Linked DNA regions of Homo sapiens: region 2 is linked to region 1. Evidence: promoter capture Hi-C in human tissues and cell types (Jung and others, 2019). All regions are on one chromosome and are shown on one strand. Each heading gives the region's core, a stretch centred on a gene start or on the middle of the fragment in contact. The rest is flanking DNA. Distances are from core to core; before and after follow the strand shown.

What was found. Contacts are between HindIII fragments. The study calls those that stand out against the background at their distance.
Region 2: a fragment that was not itself captured here is called in contact with the fragment with the promoter of STXBP5L in region 1 in 1 of the 25 tissues and cell types used here (dorsolateral prefrontal cortex).

Annotation. Positions count from the first base shown.
Region 1 is chr3:120,906,688-120,910,413 of GRCh38, reverse strand. STXBP5L (syntaxin binding protein 5L) reads right to left here and starts at 2,209. Exons shown (of 27, transcript NM_001308330.2): 1 at 2,080-2,209; 2 at 647-843. The coding sequence starts at 835. LOC105374069 (a long non-coding RNA gene) reads left to right here and starts at 2,321. Exons shown (of 6, transcript XR_924399.4): 1 at 2,321-2,385. RefSeq lists a silencer at 2,138-2,377. The HindIII fragment of the contact is 16,055 bases long and covers 1-3,726 here.
Region 2 is chr3:120,584,482-120,588,200 of GRCh38, reverse strand. No RefSeq gene overlaps it. Among named protein-coding and RNA genes, the nearest start is that of NDUFB4, 10 kb to the left of the region's middle. The HindIII fragment of the contact is 3,986 bases long and covers 260-3,719 here.

The DNA.
Region 1 (3,726 bases), core at 960-3,459:
TACCTACCAGAAACTCTCTTTTGCATATTCATTAGAAGTTCAATATCAAAGTATAATTACATAAAATGTTTTCTTACTAAACCAGAACACCCGCTATTTTTGAGTTCCTACAACTGCAAGTTCTTATAAGCCTGTGCATTTGTCTGTTTGTGTATTTATGAAGAGTTTAAGAATGTGAAGGTGTTTTTATTCGGAATTTTAAAGCAATGTCATTGGCCCCCTTAAAATGAACATATTTTCCTATTATCTACTTAATCCTAGCAACATGCTAGTAGCTTTATTCATTTCATACTGAACAGTGAAATAACAATATTTTCTCTGATAACACAAAAAACCAAACGACTATTTGCTTCTTCAGTTAATATAATACACAAATATTAAAAATTTTGTCCACTATTGGATCTTAACATTATCTTGCAAATTCTACTTTTTGTGTGTGCTCATTTCCCACTTAAACTATCATTGCTTTTTAAGTTGACGCCTAAAATATCTATTAAGCCAAACTGATCTACCCACAGAGCTTTCTGCAGCAGACTCTGATGCTGACATCTCAACAGTTTCCTGTTCCTGGTATGTTTTTCCCCCCTTGTTTCCTTACAACAGTATAATAAAGAAATAATAGGCTTTAAGCCAATTCAAAACTTACCTTGCAAATCTGGAAATACTCCGAAGTCAAAGTTTCCTGAATTTCCTCTCTGAGAACCCCTGCAGTCCCCGCCGGATGTACGGAACCACTTCCAGCCCCACCACCACTGTTACTGCCACTGCTGCTACCACTGCCAGGGGAGGAGGCAGTTAAGCCATCCAAAACTTTTCGGAAATTAAACTTCTTCATTTTAAACACTGTTGAGAAATACAAAGGAAAAAAAGGGAAAGAGGTGACTTAACACGTGCAATTAGACCTTGGTAAAAGCCTTTCTCTTTTCATTAGTCAAGTCAGTCCCCATTTTATGAGCATTGGTTACGACCGACTGGAAAAAAAGAGTCAGGATTCGTTTTGCCAAATTTTAATTCTAAAAAGCATATCCTTTTTAAAAAAAGATAAATATAACACAACTCCAAAAGCAACAGTATTCCCTCCTCACACATCAGATTTTCAAGGACTGTATCCCCAGCTGTAACTACGCTTTATCAGCACTGGGGTAAAAATAAAAGGCAGTGTCATCATCGTCATTAGCATTATATCATCATTATTATACAATCAAACCAGAGTTCAACAGACCAAGACTCTGTCTCTCTCTTAAGGGCGGACTTTCCTTCTTCGAAACGTTCGGCTCAGAGTATTTTATTTTCAGAAAAACGACGTTGGGGGAGCCGGTATTTACTCTGCCACCACCTTCCGGGCTCTTCCCCCATCAGCTTCAACGCTTCCTTTTTTGTCACTATGAAAGGCGGGGAGGGGGGTACTTTTTCTAGTCCCCATCCCCCAGCAGCCCGGACCCCAAAACATCTGCGAGTGACCCACAGCAACAGCTGCCGGGGAGGGGGGGAGGAGGAGAACGGCGACACCGTCTGTTTCCACTTGTCCCTCCGCCTCCCCCTCACCTCCCCCTCATCTCCCTCCCCGCGTCCTCTTTCCCCCCTCTCCCCATCTCCTGCTCCCCTCCCTCCACCTCTGCCCGCAGCCGCCGCCGCGCTCTCCCGCCTGTTCGCCCGCCCGCCGTCCGCTCTCCCCGCTGCACGGCAGCCGCTCTCGGGGGACGTGAAGCGGTGGCGGCGACGGCTGCGGCCCGAGTCCCGCCTCAGCCTGCTGGGCGCGCAGAGCCGCCGCTCCCGCTGTCCCTCCCCCAGGCCCAGCGCTGAGGCGCGGGGCTCTCGCCCGCCCGCGGGCGCGCGAACACACAAACACCTCACGCCGAGGCATTCGCGCTCCCAGCCAGAACACACACAAACACCCTCACACGGGCATTCGCGCGCTGGTGCGCTCGCTCTCTGTCTCTGTCTCTCTCTGTCTCTCTCTCTCTCAAACACACACACACACTCACACAGACACACACAGGTGCGAGGGAGCCACAGCTGGACGGCGGCAGCGGCGGCGGCGTCCCAGAGGGATGACTATCTGACCCAGGACTTAGGCACCTTCCTCAGACGCCTCTAGCCGCCTGCCAGCCCGGGAAGCTGAGGGGGCCGAGGTAGGCGGGCTCCGGCCGCTTCTCTGGGCCCTCTGGTCGCGGCGCCTGGCGCTCTCCGAGGTCCTAACCGAGCAGTCAGGCTCCAGAGCAGGCTCCGCCCTCCCGCCGTGGGAGGCAGGCCCCGCCCCCGGGCCGGCCCCTAGCTTGCCCCGCCCTGCTTCTTCCCCGGCAAAGCTGGGAGGTGAAGGGGGCGGGGTGCCCGGGGACGTCAAAGGGCGGGAGTAGCTTCGGCGCCAATCCTAGATTCGATAGGGTAAGTTCTGTGGTCTCCAGGGCAGAAGAAATCTGTGGATAGGCCGAAGGTAAAGCCAATGACAGTGGGAGGGGGGAATTTAGAGAAGTAGGTGAGGTATTTGATTGACAGCGGTATTGGCCAGTATGCTGGGGGTCGTGCTCTGGGGGATGTAATTGGCGCTACCTGTTGAAGGACTCAAGTGTGAATCAATAGAATGCCTGCAAGCGTGCGAATTTGGACGCCTGGAGTCTGAGGATGCGGGAAGCGTTGCTTACCTTAGGTATGGCTCTGGACAGTATGGTGAACTGAGCAAGTGTTTTGCACCTTTTCACTTCTGCGAGCCTCTTCCCGGTCTTCAGGAGCATCTATCTGGCTCCCATCACTCTCCTGCTACCTGCACTCAACTTGTATCTGTGATTAACCCCTGCTGTTACCAATAATGGCTTAATGGTTCGTATCTGCCAAGGAGAATTGTATTTCAACAGTTTCAGAATATATAGCCTTCTAGAGCCTAAGGAATTGATTGCTTACCTTGCTCTCTAGTAAGTAGAATTACTCCTTCCCCATCATCCTCACATATACAAAGATATTTAATTTCTTTAAAGAAATATTTCTCACTCTGTAAACCGTATCAAGAATATATTTTAAGCTATTTCTGTGAGTCACAATAATCATTTTGAAAGATGTATTATTCAGTGCAGAAAAAAAAACTGTATCAGGATAGATTTGGTTCTGAGCCCTCACCTGCTATTGACTTCGGGAAAATTTGGACCCCGATGTCTTTGCGAAATGAATGGCAGTTCAGCGGGTCACAGCTAACTGAGACTTCAATTTGGGCATCACAACAGAACTCATTAGTGATCATTTCAAATATTGTCTTACATCTTACAATCTTTGACCTCTTTTTTTCTTTTCTTCTTTTTCTTCTTTTTCACCTCTCCTCTTCTCTCTCTCTCTTTTCTCTCAATCAAGGGAGAGAGTGGGAAGGAGGAAGCAGGAGACTTGAAGGATGATGACTTGTCCAAGGACATAGCAAAGAAATGGTAAAGATGAAATAGAGCTCAGTTTTTCAGATCCTCAGCTCAACGTTGAATCTTTCTGTCCTGAATGACTATTTCACTCCTTTTGGGACTCCCTACACTGCTGGTAGTCTCTCATTGCCACAGCTAGACAGTAACCTTCTTGAAGGCAAGCATGGAATTGTATATTTCTCCTAGATTATTTAGCACCAGGCACAATATTTCACTTAAAATAGGCACGTAAAGGGTTCTGAAGAGTTGGTTTATTAATATTTTTTATTAAAGATATATGAGTTGGTACCCAATTACATAATGTTTGAAAGGGGTAAAAATAATGGTG
Region 2 (3,719 bases), core at 1,003-3,502, 320 kb after region 1:
AATCATACATAGTCAATGTATATAATAGTTCCATGTGAGCTTAAAAAGAATAGATATATTCCATATTTATTGAGTGCAGGGTTAGATCAAGCTTGTTAATTGTGTGGTTTGAATCTCTCATATCTTTATTCATTTTGTCTATTTGATCTATAGAGGTGTATTATAATCTCCCAATGCCATTGTGATTTGTTAATTTCTCCTTGAACAAAATTAGAGTATTCAAGATGAATTGAAGGTGAAATGGAAGCATTTTAGTGGGAATGCCTCTGTGAATTGTTTGTATATAAAGAAAAAGTAACTCATATATAATGCTTTGTTCCCTCTATCCATTCAGTGTGCTGTATACAAACCAGCCAAGAAAAAACATTCTGCCTAAAATATACAGTACACTTAGAAACACATCTGTCATGTAGACATATCCAAAAGCTTATGAATATTACATTTTGCATTCCACTTCTTCAGAGACTGTCTTTTCATCCTAGTGTTAGCATATATCTGTTCTTATTGCTAAAGTCACTTACATAAGCACATATTTGTACTTGAAAGGAACAATAAGTTTCCTACAAAGTGTAAGGTGACATTTTCTTGCACGCTTTCAATTTAATATAAAAGAGAGTTAATCCTCTTAGCTGAGGCTATGTCATGCTTTCTTATTTGTGATAAAGTATAGCCCTATCATCATCTTTTCCCTGGGGAGAGCAGCGGCTTCTTAGTTGATTTTCTTGCATACATCTACTCTTGTCATACTCTCATTCCTTTTCCATACAGCAGCCAGAGTGGCCTTCTTAAATATAAATGATCCTATCACCCCCAATTAACCCTTACCTGACTTACAACACCCAGTGGTGGTCTGCTTCCTGTCTCGTCAGCAGTACTTGTCTCTATGCTCCTCATCACTGTCTGTGCTTCAGACATGCTGGCCTGTCTTCAGTTCCTTCTTTCCACAGGGCCTTTGCACTTACTCTTTGCTCTACCTTAAACACTACACTCTACATTCCTATTCGTCCTTCAGAACTCAATTCTATAGCCCCTTAACTAATCAACAAGGTCGAATCCCTCTACGAACTTTCATAGCGATATAGGCTTCTCCTTCATGGCACTAACTGCAATCCTAATTAGGCATTTTTAAAATTATTTAGTTCATCTCTGCCCCCAACCCCAACAAGATTGCAGGCTCTTTGAAGACCAGGACCACATCAGACTTGGATCTACTGCATCTCGATACTAGCACAGTGTTTGGTACAACGTAGTAGTGATGAATGAATGAATGACTAGTTGCCTTTCTTCACTTCCAAGTAAGTCTATTAAACAAATGTGCCTACACCCCTCTTGCTGCCTCTGCTTTCATCTCACTCTCACCTCCAGGATGTATTCCATACCCACCACCCCTCAACCCATACACACATACAGCCCCCCACCACACACACACACACACACACACTCAAAATTCAAGTCTAACACATTGTCTAGTAATGTAGATTGTGATCAAAGATTTATCTGGATACACAGGAGAGGAGTTATATCACAAAGCAAAATGACTCAATGATGTCTTTTTAGTGTCTCTTATTTGCTTCCTACCAAGTTCTTATCTCTGTAGCAGCAAGAGCTCTTATTCCTCTTCTTCCCCACTCCTTAAGTCTGTTCTGGGAGCCCCACCAGCCAAGCAGCCTCCACCTCCACCTGCCTTTCAAAGTTCACAGAGCTCCAAGTTCATACCCAGCAAAACAAAGCCCAGCCATAGGCCAGGCCATGACTCCCGGGTCCTCAGTTCATAGGGCCACTTGCATTTTTAGAAATTTGGATTGGAACATGTTATCTTTTTTTTTCATATCTTCTTTTGCTTGATAATATTCTTCCCTCCATCAAAGTTATCTTATACCTTCCCTGCTGCCTGTGGCTGACTGAAATCTTATGTCTATCAAGGGCTGCTTCAAATGCCTCATTCTCTGGAAATCTTCCCTTATGGCCCCCAAGTAGAGGTGATTTTTCTCTTCCCTAAATTTGCATCCTACTTATTTTATTCTACTTGGTATTACAGGCAATTTTGTACTTGTTTTTTTCTCCCTCTCCTTAAGAACAATTTCTGTTTCTTACTCCACATGTCTCCTGAAGAAACTGGCCCGGGACTTGGGGTGCATGGCAGGCCCTAATGCTGGTTAGGTTATAAGGAAACTTTTTATATTTTTCTTCCATGTTGGTTTAAGTCTCTTTAAGAAAGCTGCTGAATTTCATGTTCCTAAATGATAGATATTCAATATTTCAATTTCAGAATCAGCTAGAAGAAACCACTAGCCCCTGCCAAGGAATTCTGTAGCTATTGTGGGTGAGTGTAGTATAGCTTTTGGTTTAACAGTCCTAGAGAGATGTTCTCTCTCCAGGTAAAAGGTATCATTGACATTTTTGCCTGGGTTGACTCTGGCTTTCTAAAAATGCAGCACAGGCCTGGCCTCTGAAAGACTATTATTTACAGAATCTAACTCTTATGACTTGTTAAGTATACCAAGGATGGCTAATTAAAAATATTGGCTTATGAATTTAACCTCCTGAGGTCTCCTATCTTTTGGTTCAAGCTTGTCCTCAGCAGAAGCAGGCTGATTCCCAGAAAATCAATTCAGCAGAAGCCAGTTTGTGAATGACCACTTCTTAGAATGGCAAGGTGACCTAGGGCCAACCACAGCAAGCTAAACTGAAGGCTGTGGAATATACCAGACTTTGCTAGACCTATTGCTAGAGTCTGTATTCTGCCATCATTGGTATGATCTTTAGGTGAACAGACTTCTTTTTTTTTCTTTTATGATGGAGTCGTGCTCTGTCGCCCAGGCTAGAGTGCAGTGGCACGATCTTGGCTCACTGCAACCTCCACCTCCTGGGTTCAAGCGATTCTCCTGCCTCAGCCTTCTCAGTAGCTGGGATTGCAGGTGCCTGCCACTGTGCCCGGCTAATTTTTTGTATTTTTAGTAGAGATGGGGTTCCACCATGTTGGCCAGGCTGGTCTTGAACTCCTGACCTCATGATCCACCCACCACGGCCTCCCAAAGTTCTGGGACTACAGGTGTGAGCCAACACACCCAGCCAGGTGAACAGACTTCTTAGTGTTTCATAGTCACCTTGATCAAGGAAAGGGGATGGAGACCCAGTGATGAGGTTTGCTTCATGTGTATATGGCTAACTGAGGGCAGCCAAGACATAACTTAGTATCGCTTGCTCAGAGTTTCTTCCAAACTATACTTAAATTCTCAACATGAAGTATCTTTAACTTCTTTTATTCTTATAAGCATTACCCTGGATTAAACAAGGATAAAAAGTAAAATGAAGTTCTTTGGGGGTTTTAAACCATTTTTTCCATTCCAAAAGTAATACATTTCATTATAGGAAAATTTTAAAATAGAATGAAAAATTAAAATATTTGAAACCCATCTTTCAGCAGCCTAAGGACAATCACATAACATTTTTGACATTTTTTTCTTCCAATCTTTTTTCCACAGAGAGGATGTTTTAGAAAATTGTAATTATCCTATATGTATTTTTTCTTTTTTTTATTTATTTTTATTTTATTATTATTATACTTTAAGTTTTAGGGTACATGTGCACAATGTGCAGGTTAGTTACATATGTATACATGTGCCATGCTGGTGTGCTGCACCCATTAACTCATCATTTAGCATTAGGTATATCTCCTAATGCTAACCCTCCCCCTTCCCCCGACCCCACAACAGTCC